Regions from separate parts of the Homo sapiens genome. Here region 1 is linked to region 2. Evidence: promoter capture Hi-C in human tissues and cell types (Jung and others, 2019). All regions are on one chromosome and are shown on one strand. Each heading gives the region's core, a stretch centred on a gene start or on the middle of the fragment in contact. The rest is flanking DNA. Distances are from core to core; before and after follow the strand shown.

Region 1 (4,642 bases), core at 1,482-3,981, 560 kb before region 2:
ACATTTGAGGCCAATGGCCATTTAATGGATGCCCAAATGATGGATGGCAGAGGCGTGTGTCAGTAAATCCTAAGGCAGGAAGTTGGTGAAGGGCTAAGCTGGATTAAATGGTGGGGTGATAGGGAGCCACAGTGGGTTCTGGAGCACCACCGGTGGTCATGGCCTGTCCTTGGGTGAGTCTGCTCTGGAGAAGGGTCCCTGACCTGGCCCCAGTCAGCTGGGACCAGCAGCTGAAACTGCAGCCTGCCTGTCTGCACTGACCTGTCTTCCCATGGCCCCTCCGTTATGCCTACCAAAGCCAGTTGCTGTGGGCTGGCCATTTCCAGAGGGAGGCCAAGAAGGCGTTTATTGAATTTATGATTTTAATTTATTACAATTCTAATCCCATTATGGGTTCCTTTTTGTCTGCAGCCTGCACAGCAGTGGAGTTTAATTATGGCCAAGCAAGATTTCCCCTACTCAGGGGACCTTTCCTGCCAGTCCTGGTGGCCTCCTGATTGCTTCAGAGGTGGTGGTGGGAGGGTTAGGAGGTGCAGAGTGGAGAAGGAGAAGCTCACTGGTGCCCGGGAGTGGCAGGCTGCTGCAACCCTTCCTGCATTTGGCAGCTGTACTGTGCAGGATGTGTGGGGATGCCTAGTGAGTGACAATTAGGACTGTAGTAAGTGGCTGTGCTGGGCGAGCAGTGTGCAACCTGCACAGCTGTACAGACAGTCTTGGGTTATCCAGAGATAGGCAGGTCCTGGAAGTAGGAGGGAGGGGACCCTAAGGGTCCTGCCAGGGTGTGTGTATCAAAGGTTCCACAAAAATGACTGTCTGGGGTGGGTCTAAGACTCTACTGCCCACTCAGAAAAAGGAATGTCTTCCAGATGGTCGGGGTCCCCAGAGGGAGGCCTGAGCAGAGAGAATGGGTCACAGAGTGGAGAGAAAAACATGGTAAGACAGGGGTTGGGGTCAGGTGCTGCTGCCAGCTTTGCCAGGAGTCCCTGTGTGACCTTAGGTCACATTTAGCCTCTCTGGGATGCTCTTTCTTCTGTTGGGAAATAAGCAGAATACAGGCTCCACCTACCCCTGGAAGGACAGTGTAGCTGGGCCAGATGTGAAATGCAGGAGGTGGAACGAAGGGCCAGAATATCAGACAAGGAGGCTTAGGTGCAGCACAAAGCTAGGGCTCCTTGAGGCCCTGTGCCCAGGCAAAGGTGAGGGGGCTCAGACCTGGTTCTAGAGCTCAGGGACTGATGGAAGCATCAGGAATACTGGGAGGGCCAAACAGCCTTGGCCCGTGGTCAGGGAGCCCTCGGAAGTGAGAGCAGCCTCAGACATTGCAAAGAGAGACCCAGCATCTTGCCTCAGTTCCTTCATCCATAAAATGGGCACGGGAACAACCCCAGCCCTACCTCCCCGACAGGTAGGAAGGGGCATGCTGACCTTGTTGGCGGACAGGGCTTGATCACCGTTAGGCGTAGGACCAGGCAGACAGCAGCATTCCTAGCTCTCTGGGCCTCAGTATCCTCATCTGTAACTGACGGGTTAGAACCAAATGACCTCAAATAATCCTTTCAGCTTAGACATTTGCAGCGTTGGTGATTAAGCAGGGAAGGCTTCCTGGAGGAGTCAGTCTGTAGGAAAGGGAAGGGTCGAGCTTTCTGCAGATTTAGGCCCCAAATCCTGATTCCTGAAGAAGGAGATGAGAGTGAAGGAAGTATGAGGGAGGAGGCAGCATAGTGTAGAGGTTGACAACTCAGACACCCATAGGTGCAGAGCAAGTGACTTAAATGGGTGAGACAGACAGGGTGTAATATAACAGGGACTGGTGGGGGCTGTGGCAAATTGGAACAGCGCGTCCCACCTAAAGGGGCAGCCATTTCTCTGCTCCACTGATCATTGCCATGTAAGGGTGTTGATCACGGGTTGTCAGATGGATTCAGTCTTTGCAAGTGTTCCCAACTGTAAAATGGGCACAGTATTAATAATTGTCTTAGTGACTTGGTGTTAGGACTAAATGAGCTAAGAAATGCAAAGTGCCTATTAACAGAACAATGGCTGGCATATAGTGAGTGGCAATAACTTTGTACTGACAATTACTACGATTGTTGTTATTCTCTATTTGTACAAAAGACCAGATGTCTTCCTTCCCCGGCCCCCAACACACTCCTGGCAGGAAGATGGGGAGCATCTAATCATTTCAGTGCAGTTGTTTGGGGTCTCCAGGGCCATGGGCTTCCTTGGCTGCCTGTGGCCTTGTCTTGAATGGCTCCAGCAGATGAGAAATGTTTGTGATCCAGAGAGAAAGCAGACGCCGGAAATGCTGCTGCCAACAGAACGCTTTGAGTCACCTGGACTCACTTCATGGGGGTTTTATTTTCTTTTGGTAGGTTATTCTGAGCCCGGGACATGCACGTTTGCAGGAAGGATTTGTCAGGCTTCGTTGGGCTGAGAAAGTGGCCACTGAAAAGCTTGGGGAGAGGCGGAGTCACGTGGTGAGGCGTGGAACCAATGCCAGTTGAAAGGGCCCAATTGTGAGCCTTAAAGAGATTCCCAGTTGTGTCCAAGGACGAGGTGGGAGAAACTAGGAGCGGGAGTGACAGGAAAATTGTCTAGCCGGTCCTCTACAGCACATGCATTCTTAATTCAGCCAGGGCTGGCAGAAAGAGACAGTGTGCATGGGTGTGTGTGCATACAGGGTGTGCATGTGTGTGGCGGGCGCCTGTCTACCTCCTCCAAGACACACTCCTTGGTTAACCCCAGCTGGCCTGGATTATACCTTCTTCTGTCTTGACTTCCAGTTCTGGATCTTTGGAAAACGAGCTGCAAGTCTTAGGGCAAGGCATTTAACCTTGCTGTGCCTCAGTTTACCCATCTGAGGAGTAGGATGATAATTCCAGTTCTACTTGCTCCAAAGGCAATCTAATGGTAGTGTTCTAGAAGGACTGTCTTTGGGTTTGAATGCACCCTCTCTCATCTGCAGAGCCCTCTGTAATTTCAAGGCTTTTACACAATCACGTCTGATTCCAGATATGGTGAGGTCAACAGATTAGCAGACAGCTGACATTGAAAAGACAGTCTGTGGCCAGGCACAGTGGCTCACGCCTGTAATCCCAGCACTTTGGGAGGCTGAGGCGGGCAGATCACGTGAGGTCAGGAGTTCAAGAGCAGCCTAGCCAACATGGTGAAACCCCGTCCCTACTAAAAATACAAAAATTAGCTGGGCATGGTGGCGGGCTCCTGTAATCCCAGCTACTTGGGAGGCTGGGGCAGGAGAATCGCTTGAACCTGGGAGGCGGAGGTTGCAGTGAGCCGAGATTGCGCCATTGCACTCCAGCCTGGGTGACAGGAGCAAAACTCCGCCTCAAAAAAAAAAAAAAAAAAAAAAAGACAGATTATTACACTCACAGATCCCAAGAGGAGCGGGCTTGTCCAGCCATGAGGGGGCACATAGGGGCAGTCAGGAGGTAGAGGGAGGGGGAAATCGTGGGCAAGAACATTTATTGTGGTATCCATGAGAAGGAACGAATGAGGCAGAGCAAGCCGGCTTAGGGTTGGCTAGTTTGAATAATTTCAGTGCATTCTGGGCCACAAGGGCTGCCCCTAGTTGTCTGGTAGATGACCCTGGAGTGATCAGGGCAGGTGGATAGTGGTCCAAAGTGTGAGAGCCAATAAAGGAGGTAGTTGCTGGTATAGACTCTGGATTGGTTGGTTTGCATTTTCAAAGCAAATGGGCTCATGGGCAAGTTGGTTACTATCTCTAAGAATTTACCAGCTCTTAACCCTCCAGGGTCACAAAGCCCCAGATGTCAAAGTATCAGAACACAGAAAATAAAAGGCATGCTTGATAAAGGAGGGGTTGGTTGACTGGTCGAAGGTCACGCAGCTTGGGAGTGAAAGAGCCCAGGTGTTTTGACTCTCGGTCCAGGACATGCCCCTGTGATCTTCAGGTGGCTTCTCCCGAGATCCCATGCCTTCCTTATGGACAAGGGCCTCCCTAGACCGTCACAGGGGCTGAGGGCAATGAAATGTTCTGCTTCCCACTTTCTGCCCCCAAACAGGTGTGTCCCAGGACCCTAGTCAGCACTGTTTTGGTTGCAAGTGACAAAAACCCCACCTTAAACAAGCTTAAGTCAAAAAGTGAGTTTATTGGCTCACATAACTGGGTGCTCAGGGTTTCCCAGTTTCAGGAAAGGCTAGATCCAGGAGCCCAAATGCTATTGTCAGGACATCATCTGTTTTGCGTATCTGGAGTCTGCGTCCCTTCAGGTGTTCTCACAAAGCCTTTCTCCACGTGTTAGGGAAGAAGGCCAATGGTAGCCCCGAACCCCTATAACTCATTACCCAAAAGGAAGAGAGATCTTCCTTGCTGGGTTCAGGTGTCAAATCTCTGATTGATCTTCTTGGGTCAGGTGTTTTTTTTTTTTTTTTTGAAACAGAGTCTTGCTCTGTCGCCCAGGGTGGATTGCAGTGGTATGATCTTAGCTCACTGCAACCTCCGCCTCCCCGGGTTCAAGCGATTCTCCTGCCTCAGCCTCCTGAGCAGCTGGGATTACAGCCACGTGCTACCATGCCAAGCTAATTTTTGTATTTTTAGTAGAGACGGGGTTTCACCATATTGGCCAGGCTGGTCTCAAACTTCCGACCTCAGATGATCCAT
Region 2 (4,812 bases), core at 1,080-3,579:
GAAGTCAGGTGGCATTTCTGGATTCACAGTGCTGTATATTTGGGGGCTTTTTTGTCTGTAATTTACTCAGGGCTTTTGTCTTCTCTGAACTTGGAAGGTTTGTGCAATGTCTGTACACTCTGGCCGAGAGGTCTCAAGTTCTGTGCCTGCTTGAGGCTGAGGCCTCTCAGTTTCACTCCCTCTACAGGAGGACAAAGGATGTCAATGTGGCCTTTTTCATGTGAGGACCCACATGCTGGAGCAGCTTTGTCCAGCTTATAGAGGGGATGGGATGGACCTGGCCCTCCACTTTCCCCCATGCAGTGTCCTGGAATGCCAGGGCCACTGTCTATGGTCAGTCCTTCACCACCTAAAAGCAAGCTGATCCACAAGGCACCTGGCTGCATCCAGGCCTGTCATCTACGGCCACCATCCTCAGCTTCAGAGCTTATGATCTGGCTCAGGGAACACAGACAAGTACTGCCATCTACAGCCACCATCCTCAGCTTCAGAGCTTATGATCTGGCTTAGGGAACACAGACAAGTACACGGGCAGTTACAACCCAGAGGCAGAAATGTCTTGGAGGAAGTACAGGCAATGTAGGCAAACACCTTGACCCAAGTACAGGATTGAACCCAATCAAGCCTGTAGCACTGGACACACTGATTGACTCTGTCTTATCCACTACGTGGACATTTCAAGAATAATCTTCGTTCCTGGAACAAGTCCATGGAAGCTGTTGCCTAGCAATGTTTTTTATTTTTTAGAGACAGTCTTGCTATGTTGCCCAGGCTGGTCTCGAACTCCTGGGCTCAAGCGGTCCTCCTGCCTCGGCCTCCCAAAATTCTAGTATTATCAGCCTGAGCCCCTGTGCCCAGCTGCCTAGCAATTTTTTTTTTTTTTTTTTGAGACGGAGTTTCACTATCGTTGCCCAGGCTAGAGTGCAGTGGCGCAATCTCAGCTCACTGCAACCTCCAACTCCCGGGTTCAAGCGATTCTCCTGCCTCAGCCTCCCGAGTAGCTGGGACTGCAGGCGCGCACTACCATGCCCAGCTAATTTTTGTATTTTTAGTACAGACGGGGTTTCACCATGTTGGCCAGGATCGTCTTGATCTCTTGACCTCGTGATCCGCCCGCCTCCGCCTCCGCCTCCCACAGTGCTGGGATTACCGGGGTGAACCATCACGCCCAGGCACCTAGCAATTCTTTAGCGGTCTTGGTTTACCTCCCCTTTAGAAGGAGCTTAAAAGCAAGCAAGGCACATTGTTGCCTAGGCTTGAGGCTTGCTCTCACCCATAAACAACGCTGTTACTCTGCTCTGGGGACGACACAGGAAACGTTCCCCACCTCCAGGTGGAGGCTGCAAAACGTGTCAAAACCATCCCTGACATAATGTCAAGAGTAGCTTATACTAGTTTCATCTTCCTTCCTTGGCATTCGAACTGCGTGTGGAACAATTAGCATTTAATATTTGGTAATTAGCATGCTTAATGTGATTCTGAGAAGTTCTTTGACATTCTCATAAAAACAGCACATTCCCACCCACCCTTCAAAGAGCAAGACCCAGTTTGTCAAGAAAAATTGCGTGCCAGTCTTTTCTGGTGCTGAATATGTATGTTCTGGGCCTCTTCCTGGACACTGCTGGTAAATTTAGAAACTCGTTTAGAAAAGCACTTCTCTCGTATTCAACAGCCTATAGGCTCATGGCGCAGAATCTAAGGGAAAATGGCTAAATCCAGCTTGTGAATTCGCGGGCTGTGATGATTCTTTCCAAGTAAATAAAAACCCTCGGTTCGCCCCGACGAGCCACATAATCTGTTCAAATCCAACAAGGAACCAGATTTTGGACGCAAAGAAGGATACGTTCTACTCGCCCCGTGCAACAACGTAAACCACTGTAGCCACCCGCTCCCGTGTCTCCAGCCCAAAGGCTGACTCTCCAGTCCGCACGTCGCAGCGCTCTTGCCCTCCACACCAAGCCCGAGTCCCGCAGCCCCTCGAGGCCCTCGGTGCCTCCCAACCCCGAGAAGGAAGCGGGGGCCGGTGGTGCACCGCCCCGGCTGCTTGGGGCGGAGGAAGGACCCGGACCCCTTCCGCCGGCCCAGCCCGCCCCGGAACCCGACCCGGCCGCCCGGCCCCGGCCGGGCCCCACGTGGCCCCTGGAGCGGGCCGCACTACCCTGCTGCCGCCGACGGACGGCGCGCCACAGCCACTCTGCGCCGCTCTGCGAGCCGGTGGCCAATGAGCGCCAGGCGAGGCCGCTTTGCCATTGGCGAGCGCGGGCTCCGCCCCCGCCGGCAGGCCCCGCCCCGCGCCCGGGTTAGGTTGCGGCGCGGGCGGCGGGCGGAGCTGGTCCCGTTGTGCTGCGGCGCCGCGCGGCCTGCAGTCCCGGGCCCGCGCCCCGCGCCGCCCGCCCGCCCGCCATGGAGCCCGGCCCCGACGGCCCCGCCGCCTCCGGCCCCGCCGCCATCCGCGAGGGCTGGTTCCGCGAGACCTGCAGCCTGTGGCCCGGCCAGGCCCTGTCACTGCAGGTGGAGCAGCTGCTCCACCACCGGCGCTCGCGCTACCAGGACATCCTCGTCTTCCGCAGGTACCGCCGCTGCCCGCAGGCGCCTGCCCCCTAGGCTCAGCCCGGGCCGCCTGCTGCCCGCCTCACGGGCCTCTCCACGCCGGGACCCAAGCGGGCTGGACCTCGTCCTGCCCTGGCCCCCTCGCCACCCCTCACACCGCCTCCCTGGGCTGGGGCTGGGACTGCGGGCTGGCCTCTTGGGTGGGGGAGTCGGAGTCTGCGCCCCGCTCCACGTGTCAGCCCTCAGGACACGTCAGAGCCCGAGGAGACCCCGGGTCCCACCCCGGCCTCCACCCGGCGGCCCGCCTGCCGTTCCTCGCCACGTGTCACCATCGCTCCTCATCCCTGGGACCCCTAGGCGGGATGGGGAGACCCTCCTCACCCAGGGCGGCTTGGGGTACGTTTTCCCCACCCCAGAGAACCCAGGTCCCCGACTGTCACTCCGCCCGCAGTAAGACCTATGGCAACGTGCTGGTGTTGGACGGTGTCATCCAGTGCACGGAGAGAGACGAGTTCTCCTACCAGGAGATGATCGCCAACCTGCCTCTCTGCAGCCACCCCAACCCGCGAAAGGTACCCCAGTGTCCCCTGGAACAGTGCCGGACGAGGGGCGGCCCCAGGTGTGCTCCGGGCTCTTCCCAGATGCTGCCTGCATGGTTGTCAGAGAAAGTGCTAGCGAGGCCAGGGGCGTCCCGCGGAGGGGTGGGGGCCGACACTGACGCGGCCTCGGAATCCTAGGGCAGCCCTGGAAGGAACTTCCAGGAAAGGGGACACCGGCACGAAAGCGTTTCCGAGGGTAGAAAAAGATGAGGCCCGTGGGTCCGAGGGGTCAGGGGGTCTGCTTCAGGGGCCTGGGGGCTCCCAGTCCTGCCAGGGCCCCTGCCTTGACTGCCCCCTCCTCCCAGGTGCTGATCATCGGGGGCGGAGATGGAGGTGTCCTGCGGGAGGTGGTGAAGCACCCCTCCGTGGAGTCCGTGGTCCAGTGTGAGATCGACGAGGTGAGTGCCGGCGTAGAGCCAGGTTTGAGTCCTGGTTCTCCCAGCGGCCAGCTGTGCCCTGAAATGGCTGCACACCCCCGAGCAAGGCAGGTAGGGCCTGTTTCTCCATCTGGAAAACACCTGGTCGGGGAGGGTTCAGTAGGAAAACCAGATGGCAGAGGGCCTGGCAGGTGGTGAGGGCACCTGCGTGGCGAGCTCTTACTAAAACTGAGCTGATTTTTTTTTTTTTTTTTTTTTTGAGACAGAGTTTCGCTCTTGTTGCCCAGGCTGGAGTGTGATGGTGCGATCTCGGCTCACTGCAACCTCCACCTCCTGGGCTCAAGTAGTTCTTCTGCCTCAGCCTCCGGAGTAGCTGGGATTACAGACATGCGCTACCATGCCCGGCTAATTTTGTATTTTTAGTAGAGACAGGGTTTCTCCATGTTGGTCAGGCTGGTCTCGGACCTGGCGACCACAGGTGATCCGCCAGCCTCGTCCTCCCAAAGTACTGGGATTACAGGCGTGAGCCACCACGCCCAGCCGACTAAGCTGATTTTTAATCTGAGCCCCAGGCAGGGCCCCAAGACAGCTCAACTATTTGTACGTTACCCCTTACACTCAGTAGCTGCTCACTAAAATCATGCTACGTGCCAGGTGTTGCCCGGGTATGGGGACAGTGGTAGACGACAGATCAGTCCCTGCCCTCTAGGAGCTGATGTCCTAGTTAAAGGAGACATCAGATGGCCAGACGTGGTGGCTCACACCTGTAATCCCAGCACTTTGGGACGCCAAGGCGGGCAGATCACCTGAGGTCAGGAGTTCAAGAGCAGCCTGGCCAACCTGGTGAAACCCCATTTCTACTAAAAATACAAAAATTAGCCGGGCATGGTAGTGCATGTCTGTAAACCCAGCTACTAGGGAGGCTGAGGTGGAAGAATTACTTGAGCCCGGGAGGCGGAAGTTGCAATGAACCGAGATCTCGCCACTGCACTCCAGCCTGGGTGACAGAGGAAGAATCTGTCTCAAAAAAAACAAACAACAAAAATAGAGACATCAAAGGATGGTCTGATGAAGGCAAGACAGGGGCTGGGGGACAGGAGAAGGCAGGGTTCCTGTGAATGCATGGGGGGTGGTCAGGGCAGGCCTCCAGGAGGTGGCGTTTGAGCTGAGACCTCAGTGAAAAGCAGGTGGCCGTGTGCAGGGAGGGGGAGGTTCTCCTGGCCAGAGGTTGGAATTGCATCCTTCTAAAATAGGAAACAGGCCAAGCGCTGGTGGCTCACACCTGT

The links. Contacts are between HindIII fragments. The study calls those that stand out against the background at their distance.
Region 1: a fragment that was not itself captured here is called in contact with the fragment with the promoter of SRM in region 2 in 1 of the 25 tissues and cell types used here (IMR-90 fibroblasts).

Annotation. Positions count from the first base shown.
Region 1 is chr1:11,618,446-11,623,087 of GRCh38, reverse strand. No RefSeq gene overlaps it. Among named protein-coding and RNA genes, the nearest start is that of LINC01647, 11 kb to the right of the region's middle. The HindIII fragment of the contact is 3,706 bases long and covers 879-4,584 here.
Region 2 is chr1:11,057,535-11,062,346 of GRCh38, reverse strand. SRM (spermidine synthase) reads left to right here and starts at 2,329. Exons shown (of 8, transcript NM_003132.3): 1 at 2,329-2,570; 2 at 3,002-3,122; 3 at 3,455-3,547. The coding sequence starts at 2,404. RefSeq lists silencers at 1,880-2,409, 2,620-2,809. The HindIII fragment of the contact is 6,396 bases long and covers 1-4,354 here.